2 separate regions of the Homo sapiens genome follow, and region 1 is linked to region 2. Evidence: promoter capture Hi-C in 16 types of primary human blood cells and fetal thymus (Javierre and others, 2016). All regions are on one chromosome and are shown on one strand. The core of a region is centred on a gene start or on the middle of the fragment in contact, and the rest is flanking DNA. Distances in the headings are between cores, read along the strand shown. Region 1 holds the start of OR9I1 (olfactory receptor family 9 subfamily I member 1). Region 2 holds the start of OR5B2 (olfactory receptor family 5 subfamily B member 2).

Evidence for each region. The method cuts DNA at HindIII sites, captures the fragments that hold promoters and counts their contacts. A CHiCAGO score of 5 or more calls a contact.
Region 1: the fragment with the promoter of OR9I1 here is called in contact with the fragment with the promoter of OR5B2 in region 2 in 11 of 17 cell types (M0 macrophages, naive CD8 T cells, M1 macrophages and 8 more); the score reaches 7.1 in M0 macrophages.

The regions. Positions count from the first base shown.
Region 1 is chr11:58,123,803-58,130,512 of GRCh38, forward strand. It overlaps OR9I1 (olfactory receptor family 9 subfamily I member 1), which reads right to left and starts at 1,728. Exons shown (of 3, transcript NM_001005211.2): 1 at 1,472-1,728; 2 at 636-837. The region is part of intron 2 of OR9Q1 (olfactory receptor family 9 subfamily Q member 1); the gene reads left to right. The HindIII fragment of the contact is 7,504 bases long and covers 1-2,586 here.
Region 2 is chr11:58,426,734-58,433,057 of GRCh38, forward strand. It overlaps OR5B2 (olfactory receptor family 5 subfamily B member 2), which reads right to left and starts at 1,388. Exons shown (of 3, transcript NM_001005566.3): 1 at 1,286-1,388. The HindIII fragment of the contact is 6,968 bases long and covers 1-2,889 here.

The DNA.
Region 1 (6,710 bases), core at 478-2,977, 300 kb before region 2:
ACCATTAGGCAAATACTCAACTTCTGTGGGCATCAAGTATAAAGATTGATGTTGGAGTTCTTTGTGGTCCATGTTTTTTCTTCTTTTTCTTTCTTTATAACTTGAGAGAGACTTAGTTGGACCATATCCCTCTTGATATACCCTTGGAAAACTGCTCAACCAATTGGAACCTCAATTTTTTCAATAATAAAATGAGAATATAGTAACGATTCTTGAAATAGAATGGATGTTTATCTAATATGGTAGAGCTTGCTTATTTTTCAGACAGGCAATTTCCAAAATATTTCCCAGAGGGAAAAATTTTAGGAGCAGACTGGTGACACCCAGTTTTGTGTGATCTTGTTTAAGAAGGAGATTGGGGTACCATCAGCTTGGGTGAGGCCAAGAGTAGAGAGAAACAACCAACTCCCCGAACCCAGGACAGTTTATGAAAGGGAAAGCAACGGTTTATGGCCAGTGACTCTTTTAAGAAAGCCTAGGAACATTTATAGGTTGATATTATTACTTGTGATATATTTAAATTATAATATGTGACATAAAAGAATATGTGACCTCTGGAGGGGATAGGGAAAAAGACTCCTCTAATTCAGGAGGAACCCTTTACAGAAGAGATGGTCCCTAACACTTGTACTTACTTTAACTTGGGATGTTCTCCATACTCTTCTTCATTTTCCTCCAAAGATTGAGTCCCTTGGGGAGGGTGAAGGAGCTCAACAAAGTTAATGTTTCTCACCTTACTGAAATCAGTGTCTTGAAATATTGTTGTTAACATTTGCTGAGCTCTTGCTCCAAGTCAGGTAGATGCTAAGCACTTTAAAGGCTTTTATTTCCTTTCAACTTGACAATAACATAATGAGAGAGAAATATTTTATTTTACAGATGAGGAAATGAAGGTTTAGAGACATTAGATGTTTTGCTTGAGGTTTCACAGCTAGAAAGAAAATATGTTTAAATTCTAACCCTGGTTCTCTGACCCCAGAGTTGGAGTGTTGAATCAACACGCTGTGCTGCTTTTCCTAATCCTGGCAACCATTTATCGAACATCTTCTCTGCGCTGATCACAATACTATGCATTGTAGACACATTAGTTCATATAATTCATACAATGATCCTACAAAAAAGGTATTATTTTGTCCTGGAAGAGACTAGGACTCGGAATAGTTAAGTACCTTGTCCAAGGTCACATGACTAGTCAATGAAAAAGCCTGGAGTCTAATCCAGGTCTGTCTTATTCCAAAGCCAGAGTCCTAGTACATATGACTAATTCTACTCCAGCATAATTACAGAAAGTAGAGTCATTTACAGGAAAATATCTTGTCTAAGCTCTGCAGTCTAGTACCACGCCTCCCACATGAAACTATTTATATTTTCTGAAATCTACTTAGTGACACAAAAGCCCAAAGAGATTAAAGCTGTAGATTCCCCCCTTACCCACCGCCCCCCCCCCAAAAAAAAGCTGATCCAGTCTTACTTGTATATTTCACATAAGAGCTGAAATCCCAGTCTGGTCATGGTCCTATCAGATGACAACTTCTGATGACAAAGGCAAGATTCTCTGCCCAGTTACACCTTCTCTAGTTTGTGTGGACCTTACTTCAGAGCCAAGGTAATAATTAAGTCTTAATTACCTGGTGGAATAATTCAGTTGGATTTATCTTGGCCTTGTAGTCAAGCTAAGCTAAGGTTGTTTAAGCATTTTGTAGAAAGCAGCTAAGATTGCTCAAATAGACGTATGTAGCTGACTGACTTTAGGTTTTCTTCTTACTAAGCAAACCAGTGGGATATTTAAATTGCCTTTGGGGATAGTTTTATGGGAGGGATGCAGTGATCTCAGTGGTTTTCCTTGAATCATGAATCAGGACCTGGGACAGCCCCTGGGACTCCAGAGAATAGCCGGCCCGGTCAGGGAGACCACACTTCAGCAGAGGCTCATTATCTCAGCTTCTGCACACTTCTGAGAGAATAAAAACAAATCTTATGGGAGCTCATGAAAACTCGTAAGCCTTGTTTGTCTCAAAGCTCAACTGCAGACTCTGCTGGGAATGAACTTGGTTTTTCTTTGCCACTGGCTCACCATTCCCAAAGTTACTCAGTGGTAATATCAGGACTGGAACTCAGATCTTAGGACTCCTGGTAAAGTTCTCTTTACAACACACTCATCCTTAGTCCTGATGTCAAGTCCCATATCAGGGGCTGAAACCTGGCTGCATTGTCTGCTCAGAATTTCAAGGAAGAGTGATTATTGGCTCAGGAAGGTATGAGTCTGGTGTGGTCTAAACATACTTCATTCATGTCTATACTGAGGAGCTTGTCAGCTCACCTTCCTTAAAGATCTATTTCCAGGGTTTCCATGGTCAACTCTCTAACCACTCCAGCTCTTGTCTCTTCCCTCGTCTCTGAAACCCATGATCTCTTTGTTAGAACCACATAATTTGGCACTGAACTCCACTTGTCTTACAGTGTTCATAGTTATTCTTTAGTGAATAGTCTCATCTCCTCTGCTGGATTGTGGGTTCCTGGAGAACCTATCTTTCTTCCTACTAATAACTTGGTTCCTGATTCAGTAGAACCTCTCTGTGTCCTATAAGCTTTCATCAGCTTTTTATTGTAGGATCAGAACTTTTCCAGCAGAAGAAATCTCAAAGAGGCCATGTGCTCTGTTTGCTTCTAAGTAACATGGCTGGGATAAAAAACCTTTGAAAATTAGCAAGCATTCAGGCGAACTAGGGTGGTTTTCATAATTGCAGATGCCAGATGCCAGTTGATACAAGAATATATTACAAAGAAGGGTGGCAGCCACAGATCAGGACTCCTGGCAGTTAGCACAAGAAATTCTACCTTCCAATACATTTTTGGACAATATTTATTATTTCCTATAATTAAATATCTATTGAAATAACTGTGTGGTAAGAGTATATGTAGTGTATTCTAATACTTCCTGGAATGGTATAGAAGGTAGAGTGGTAATTGGGACAGGGTGAAGGAATATGCCAGTAATAAGAATATTCCATTCAACATCCCCTGGGGAACTTGTAGAATGGGGTGACTATACAGTAGATATTACCTTCCTTCCTTTTGACACATTGGGGGATCTAGAGTGCTTTGATGTATAACATAATCATTACTATTGTTATCTTTAATATTGTTATTGTTATTGTTAAGCATTTCACCAGAGTCTTGCTCTGTCGCCCAGGCTGGAGTGCAATGGCATGATCTTGGCTCACTGCAACTCCACTTCCCGGGTTCAAGCGATTCTCTCACCTCTGCCTCCCTAGTAGCTAGGACTACAGGCATGTGCCACCACGCCCAGCTTATTTTTGTAGTTTTAGTAGAGACGGAGTTTCACCATGTTGGCCAGGCTGGTCTTGAATTCCTGACCTCGAGTGATCTGCCCGCCTCGGCCTCCAGAAGTGCTGGGATTACAGGCATGAGCCACCGTGCCCGGCCTCACTCCAGAACTTCTGTTTGGACTTTTGGGAAGAGATGCATCTTAGGTTAGCTTCCTTAAAAAAAGACCCGGGACAGAATTTTGGGCAAGTGCCTCACTGAGGGAGTGCTTGAAGGAGAAACCTGTAAGGGAGTGAATGAAACAGGAAATAGCTAAGCAAAGATGTAGGATGTAGTTTCAGCTGGAGGCTAGCTTTGGCCTGATTCTTAGAGTAACTCTGGAATGTGAATTATGCCATGGGCCTAGTTCTGCCTCCAGACAAGGGATTTGGCTTTTTGCAGCCCACACCAACCATCCATTGACTGTGGGCTGCCTCCAAGTGGTGTGACTTCCCAGGCATTCTGGGAAAAGTGGATCCCTTAGCTAATGGCAATTCTCCAGAGAAGGAGAGCTGTGAGCTCTTAGCAGCCAATACTCATAGCAGCTGCAGGTGGGTGTACTGATCTGTTAACTGGGATACTTAAAGATGCTCTTTTTTCCTGATAGAATTTTGAGTGTTTATATCTGGGGCTTCTGATGCCACTGAATGAGTGAAAATAGCCCAGAGAGAAGTTAAGAGAGGAAGAAAGGAAGACTGAGGTCTAATGAAGTTTGGACTTTTGGAAAACCCCAATGTCCAAGACTGCAGCCTGAGGATATTTGAATTTCTGAAGCAAGTCTTGCCTGGAGCTATCCAGATAAAGTGTTTTTGGTTACATCAACAAATTTCATTTTTTAATTTTTAAGTCAATTTTATTTGGCTTTCTACCATTTAAATTGAAAAAAATTTTTGACACTAACTCTGAAGTATTCATGGTTTTGTATGTTTGTATAGGCACTGGAATATCTAGAAGAATGTATACCAAACTGTCAAAATGAGCATCACTAGATATTATGAAAAGGGTATCACTTTCATAATCTTTGTGTAAGGATTTGTTAGAAAAATAATATATTAATAGAAAAAATATTTCAATATTTATAGTAGAATAGTAGGGGCAAACAGGTGAAAACAGCCAAGAAAAACTAAAAAAAAAAAAAAAAGAACAGTAGGAAGAGAGCAATTAACCTGCCTGATATAAAAGCTTACTATAAAGCTTTAATAATTAAAGCAATCTTTTTCAGATGTAAGAATTGGTAGATACATCAGTAGGACAAATGGCAAAGCTGAGAAACAAATCCAAGTATCCACGAGGAATTAGTATATAATAAAGGTGGTATTTTGCATTAGTGGAGAAAGAAATATTTATGGAATCATTGATAATGAAATGACTGGTTACGTATTTGAGAAGTTTGAACAGTATCTCACAGCTTATATCAAAACAAATGTCAGATCTATCGCGTTATAAAGAAAATATAAGTGAATCTTTGTCACTTTGTCATCACTCAGAGTGGGAAATTTACTTAACATTAAAAAAAAATTTTTGTGGAAGTGCCCATCAACAAGATGAATGGATAAAGAAAATGTGGAAATGTACTTTTTTAAACCTAAAAATACAGAAAGTTAGCATAAAGGCATATGTATGTGTCTACATAAAATGTTAAAAATTCCATATGTCAAAACATCGCATAAAAATAAAAAAGCAAATATAATACTAAAGTTTATGTGTCTGTAAAAATGTTAAAAATTTCATATGTCAAAACATCACATAAAAAAGGCAAATCAAATACTAAAAAGGTATTTATGACATACATGGAAAGCATGTCCTGTTAGATTTACTTCATACCATCTTAAATTCACTCGTTTCTTTTCATTTCCCACTATTCAGGTATTTTAGCTAGGTTATCCTTGGTTATGCTGCACTGTTAAATAACATAAAAATCTCAGTGCTTTAAAACAGCACAGATTTATTTCTTGCTCCAGGTACATATCTCTTACAGGTTTGCTTATCAGAGTATCTCAGGAACCCAGGTGGATCCACCATCTCCACGGCCCATCCACCATCTCAACGGTGGTGGTTGCCACAACGTCCGATTAAACCAACCACAAAGGGCCAGGCAGAGCAATTCGTGTGTGTGTGTGTGTGTGTGTGTGTGTGTGTGTGTGTAAGTAGAACACTAGCACTACCTCTCCTGGTGTCCCTCATCTCTGGACACTCCCACAATAGCCCCCTAAATGTCTTCCTGCTTTTACTCTTGCCTCTCTATAATCCATTTTTCTCATAGAATCAAGAGAAATTGTTTAAAACCTACATCAGATTCTGTAAGTTCCCTATTAAAAACCTTCCATTGGCTTCCCATTGCACTTAGACTCAAACCTGATATTTTTACTGCGGCCTATATGATTATCTGTGATCTACCCCCAACCTCCCTCTGGTTTTGATCTCCTACTGGTCTTCTATCTGTTTCTTGAGACCCCAGCATATTCTGGCCTCAGAGCCTTTGGATTTACTGTTCCTTCTGCCTGAAATGCTACTCACTCGAGAAGGTGCGCTTGTGTCTTCTTTTCATGCAGGTCTCAGTGTAAATACCCCATCACCAAGACCTTTTCTGACCTCCAGAAGTTCCCTTTCTCTGTCGCTACTCCAAATAGTTTCTGTCACAGCACCCTTCTCTATTTCTTTATAACATGACTCTCTCTGTTGCTGCCTATTAGAATATAAGCTATAAGAGGGCAGGGCTTTTTTTTTCTGTTTTTTTCAAATTATTTTTTGCTTATTTTTTCCTGGTATATATAAATACAGGTGAGTTTATTTTATTTTTGTTTTACTTTAAGTTCTGGGATACATATGCAGAATGTGCAGGTTTGTTACATAGGTATACCTGTGCCATGGTGCTTTGCCATACCCATCAACCCATCATATAGGTTTTAAGCCCCGCATGCATTAGGTATTTGTCCTAATGCTCTTCCTCGAGTCTGCCTTGTTCACTGCTGCATCTGTAGGGCCTAGAACAGCTCTTGGTTTACACTAGGCACTCAATAAATATTTGTTAAACAATGAGAGGAGAGAGCCTTAATGTTTCTACAATTCAATCAGAAAAGTTAAACACTTCAATAGAAAAACTGGCAAAATATAAGAGTGCTGAGTTTACAAAGAAATAGAAATGGCTAAATATATGAAAAAATTTAACATAGTAGGCAGGAAAAATTACAAAAAAAATGTAGTCATGAGATACTTTTTGCCTACATAATCATCAAATATTTGAAAGAAAATTATAATATTCATTATTAACAGGAGTGATGGCAAACATTTCCCTTCCTACACTGGAGTGCTGGGGAGCATCTTGAAGTCAGTTGGCTAATTCACATGAAGGCCCTTAAAAATAAAAGTGCCCTTTTCCTGGC
Region 2 (6,324 bases), core at 138-2,637:
ACAAATATTGAAGTTCTCTAGAGGGAGGGAGATTTAAGGAAAAAGTAATGACTAGGTGGAGATTAGAAAATATTCTCCAACTTGTCACACAGGGCTGCTGCTGTGAGGAAAAATAGAAGTCTCTGAATGCACTCTGTAAAGTCCTAAAGAGCTGTAAGAAGGGATCATCGTATCTGCAATGAACATCATTTTTAGCTGGGGGTCTTATCCCTGGCCATTGTTGCAGACTCAGAGTAATATACCAGTGTGAAATAAGGCCACTTAGTACAATGGACAACCTTTTACACTGAGATCAATAAATGATCACCAAAAGGTGACACACAGGGTGGAACCTCTAACATGATGTTAAATAGAGTCATGTTGGGATGTTAGAGACCAATGACTGGGAACTAACAATAATTGAGGAATTTGAACGTACATAAAGTTCTCAGGGGACAAGTTACCCATGAGAATAACCACAGTCTCTCACTCCAATCATCTAGAGAAGCAATAATTAAACTGCATATGAAAGCCTGGTTCCATTTTCTTAGGAAGAACACCAGTGTATTTACTTTACTCAGGGTTATTTCTTCTTGGTAATGTGAACATCTTCAGAAAAGATTCATCATTAACTTTCCTGGCAGAAATCAGACAGAATCATGAGTGGCATAATGGAAACTAGGCTAAAGTGTTATGTAAGTTTCGTTGGCCGATGGCAGCATAACTTCACAAAGTTCATATTGAGATTATAGGTTGTATAAACACTTACGCACTTCAGTTCTCTCATTAATAAAACAGAGATGAGTATTTTTTTTCTGAGATAGCAGAATGGATGCTTTGCCAGAATCCTTGCTCACTTGGAAATAGCAAGTGGTGTGTAGAGATTCACACTGTGAATTTGCATCCAAGTAGAAACATGATTGTTCAATATAAAAGTGAAAGAAAACTTTGTATACTGCTGAAAACAAGACAGACAGCAGCCCAAATGGAAAACTGTGAATCAGTCCCTCCATATGTGAGAGGGGGAGTGCTCCACAATACACATACCCACCAGGAAGCCAGGCAACCTAGGCTATCGGGAACTTTTTGAGTTTCCCAAAACCTGGATCAGACTTGGGGAACAGTCAAGGGACTGTGAGAAGGAAGAGCACTGGGAAGTACCCCACATGCACTCTCAGACTTAAGGACCAATGGAAGGAGGTCATTCCTGATGCTAACTCATAGTGGGTTGCACAGGAACCTGCCAGCTAGCATTGGTGTCAGTCACTGGTTTGTAGAGTTGTTAGCCAGAGATTTGTGATCTTACCTTGATTGGAGGAGGAATCCACATGGCCAGAATGGAGAGGCAAGAATAGCATGGGCTTCAGCTGTGGACAATGGAATTGGGAATCCACCTTGCAGGACAAGACCAGGAGGGTTTGAGTCTGAGAGGAGTGGTTTTGACCACGGTAGCAAGTTTTGCAGCCTGAGGCATTTTCACACTCTAAAGGCAAAGTGCATTTGAGTTGGCTAACTGTCCCAACGCACTGCTAGTGTCCAGCTGTGGGAAAGAGCCCTGCTGGGTTTAATGAGAGCAAACTGGGTCTTACTACCCCTTGATAGGCCATGGAGCCTAGGATGTACTCTTTCCCTCATGGGGTCATTGGCATAGCAGCAGTTGCTCTGCTTATTGCTGGAGCGTTTCTTCAGAGGTCTGAGGATTGCTCTCTGAACCTTGTAAGGGCCAGCACTTGTACATGCCATCGTGGGGTTCAAGTGCAGACTTGCACAACCCAACACTGCCCAGCTTTGCCCTCTTGCCTTGGATACAAAGCATGGAACCAGGACCACTGTGTGTTCCATAGCCCAAATCATTATCTGGGACACCCAAACCAGTACACTAAGGATATTTACAAACAAGAAAATCATACAGAGTCTACACCAGTTTAGACAGCCAGAAACAAAGCCAAATAACCCTACTCAGCATACATTATAGTCACATTCCCAAGAAAAATAAGTCACACCCCAATGAAAGTAAATTCAATAATAGAAGTGACTAATTCTCCAGATGCAAAGAAATCAGGATAATAATACTGGAAGTATGAAAAACAAAGTGCTATAACACCTCCAAAGGAGCACAGTAATTCTCTAGCAATGGATTTGAACCAATAAGAAATCTTCAAAATGTCAGATAAAGAATTCAAAATACTGATTTTAAAGAAGTTCTATAAGACATAAGAGAAAACTGAATACCAATGCAAAGACATCAGAAAATCAATTCCTGATATGAGCTAGAAATTTACCAAGAAGGTAGAGATCTTAAAGAAACAAACAACTTCTGGAAATGAAAATTTCACTGAAAGAATTATGAAGAACAGTTGAAAGCCTTAAGAATAGACTAGAACGAGCAGAGAAGAGAATCTCAAAATTTGAAGACAGGTCTTTTGAATTAATTCAATCAGACAAAAATAAAGAAAGGAGAATAAAGAAGAACAAACAAAGCCTTTAAGAAGTATGGGACTACATAAAGCAACCAAACATATGAAGTATAAGTATTTCCAAGGGAGAAGAAAAAGCAAAAAGTTCAGAAACCCTATTTAAGGAAATAATTGACAACAAGTTTCCCGAGTTTGGGAAGAGATTTACACATCCAGATACAATAAGCCCAACAAACTACAGGAAAATACATTGTAAAAAGGACCTCAACATGACATATAGTCATCAGATTGTCTAAAGTCAACATGAAAGAAAAATCCTAAAATCAGCATGAGAAAAGTGTCTAGTCATCTATAAAGAAAACACCATTAGAATAATAGTGGACTTTAAAAGCAGAAACCTTACAAGCCAGAAAAAATAGAGATTCTATTTTTAAAGTACTTAAAGGAAAAAAAAAACCCTGTCAACCACCAATTTTATATCCTATTCAGAATAAGCTTCATAAATGGAGGAGAAATAAAGTTCTTCTCAGACAATCAAATGCTGAGGGAATTCATTACCACTAGACTGGCCCTATAAGAAATTCTGCAGGAGTTCTAAATGTGGATACAAAATGTCAATATTCACCATCATATAAACACAAAATTACAAAAAGTAAAAAAAGGAAATCCAATGACTACATGACAAAACTCCACTAAAGCACAAAGACAAAGGAAAAAAAGAAATGAAGAATCTACAAAACAGCTAGATTACAATCTACATTATGTCAGAAACAAAAGCTCACATGACAATATTAACCTTAACAATAAATGAATTAAAATTTTCCACTTAAAAGATATACATTGATGACATGGATAAAAACATGAAGCAACTACATGCTACTTAAAAGAAACTCACCTTACTGGTTGGTAGACAGTTATAGACTGAAGGTAAACAGGTGGAAAAGATATTCCACACAGATGAAAACCAAAAGTGGGTAGTAGTAGTTACACTTATATCAGGTAAAACAGACTTAAAATAAACCATGATAAAAAATACAAATAAGGCCATTATATAATGATAAAGAGATCAAATCAGCAAGAACATATAAAAATTCTGAATATATGTGCACCTAAAAATGGAACAGCACCCAGAGTCATAAAAAAATTACTAGACATAAAGAAAGAAACATACAGAAATGCAATAAAAATGGGGGACTTACCCCACTGATAGCACTAGACAGGTTATCAAAACATAAAATTAACAAAGAAACATTGGACTTAAATTTTTGACCAAATGGACATCACAAACATTTACAGATCAGTGTAACTAACAAAAGTAAAATGTAGTTTTTTCATGGGCACATGGTACATTCTCCAAGATATGTCACAAAACAAGTCTCAATATAGTATTCAACTTTTTAAAAGTTGAAATTATACCAAGTGTCTTCTCAGAGCATAGCCAAATACAACTAGAAATCAATACCAAGAGGAACTCTGGAAACTATACAAATACATGGAAAGTAAACAATATATTCCTAAACAATATTTAGGTTTGTTACTAAATTAAGTCATAAATTAAAAATTTTTGGAATAAATAAAAATGGAAACACAAAACATACCAAAACATATTGAAAACAGCAAAAGCAGTGATAAGAGAGAAGTTTATAGTATTAAATGCCTACATCAAAAAATAGAAAGATCACAAATTAGCAACATAACATTGTACCTCATGGAACTAGTAAAACAAGAACAAACAAAATCCAAAGCTACCAGAATAAAACAAATAACAGAGATCAGGGTAGAACTAAATGAAATCAGGTCAAAAACAAATAAAATAGACAAACCACTAGCTAAACTACCTAAGAAAAACAGGAGAAGAGATCCAAATAAACATAATCCAAAATAAAAAAGAATACATTACAGCTAAAACCACAGCTAATACCACAGATCATCAGAGGCTGCCATGAACAACTTTGCACTCACAAACTAGAAACGTAGAGAACATGAATAAATTCCTGGAAACAAATAACCTCCTAAGATTGAATGGGAGAGAAAAATCTTGAACAGAGCAATAATGAGTGATTAAATCAGTAATATAAAACTTCCCAACAACACCAACAAAAAAGCTCAGGACCAGATAAATTCACAACCGAATTCCACCAAAGGTAAAAAGAAATAATAGCAATCTTTTGAAACTCTTCTGAGAAATCAGAGAGGAGAGAATCTTCCCTAACTCATTCTACAAAGCTAGTATGAGTCTGATACCAAAGCTGGCAAGGATATAAAAATGGAAGACTACAGACCAATCCCTGATAAACATAGATGCAAAAATCCTCAAAAGTATACATCATTTGCTAGCATTTTGTTAAGGATTTTGTATGTAAGGATTTTGCACATATATTGAGATATATGTATAACAGCATATCAAGAAGATAATATACCACAATCGAGTAGGTTTTATTCAGGGATGCAAGGATGGTTCAACATACACAAATCAATAGATGTGATTAATTACATAAGCAGAATTTAAAAACAAAAACCCTATGATCCTATAAATAAATCCAGAAAAGGCATTTGATAAAATTCAGCATCCTTTTATGATAAAAACTTTCAAAAAATCAGACATAGAAGGAACATACCTCGAAATAATAAAAGCTATACATGAAAAACACATAGCCAACAGCATACTGAATGGAGAAAACTTGAACTCATTCTCCCTAAGAATTGGAACAAAACAAGGATGACCATTTTCATCACTCCAATTCAACATAACCCTGGAAGTCATAGCCAGAGCAATCATGCAAGAATAAATATTAAATGCATTCAAACTAGAAAAGAGAAAGTCAAATTATCTCTGTTTGCTGATGATATGATTTGTATGTAAAAAATCTCACAGACTCCTCCAAATAATTCTTAGATCCGATAAATGAATTAAGTAAAGTTTAGGGTTATATAATCAACATAAAATATTCAGTAGCATTTCTATATAACCGACATACAAAATTCAGTAGCATTTCAAAATGAGTAGCATTTGTATAGAAATGCTACTGAATTCTGTACGTTGATTATATAACCTTAAACTTTACTTAATTCATTTGTAAGCTTGATTCTCAGCTTGAATTGAGCTGAGAATCAAATCAAGACATCAATCAATTTACAATATGTGCAAAAAATACCTAGAAATATATTTAAACAAAGAGGTAAAACACCTCTACAATGTAAACTACAAAACATTGATGAAAGAAATTATAGATGACACAAACAAATGGAAAAACGTTCCATGCTCCTGAATTGGAAGAATCAATATGATAAAAATGACCATACTGTCCAAAGGAATCTACAGACTCAATGCATTTTCTACCAAAATACTAATGTAATTTTTCACAGAATTAGAAAAATACAGTCATAAGATTCATATGGAATCAAAAAAGGAGCTCAAATAGCCAAAATAATGCTAAGCTAAAAGAACAAAGCTGGTGTCATCACATCATCTGACTTGAAGTTATACTGCAAGCCTGCAGAAACCAAAACGGCATGGTACTGGTTTCTAAGTAGACACATAGATGAATGGAACAGAATATAGGAACAAAAAATAAAGCTACATACCTACAACCAACAGATCTTTGTCAATGTTGACAAAACATGCATTTGAGAAAGGATACACTTTTCAATAAATGGTGCTGGAAAAATAGAATTTTCCTTTGCAGAAGAATGAAACTGACTCCTATCTCTTACCATATACAAAAATCAACTCAAGTTGGATTAAAGACTTAACTGTAAGACCTGAAATTGTAGAAATACTAGAATAAAACCTAGGAAAAACTCTTCTGGACATTGGGCTAGGCAAAGGATTCATGAAAACCTCAAAAGCACAGGCAGCTAAAATAAAAATAGACAAATATGACTTGATTAAACTGAAAGGCTTCTGCACAGCTGAATAGAGTGAAGA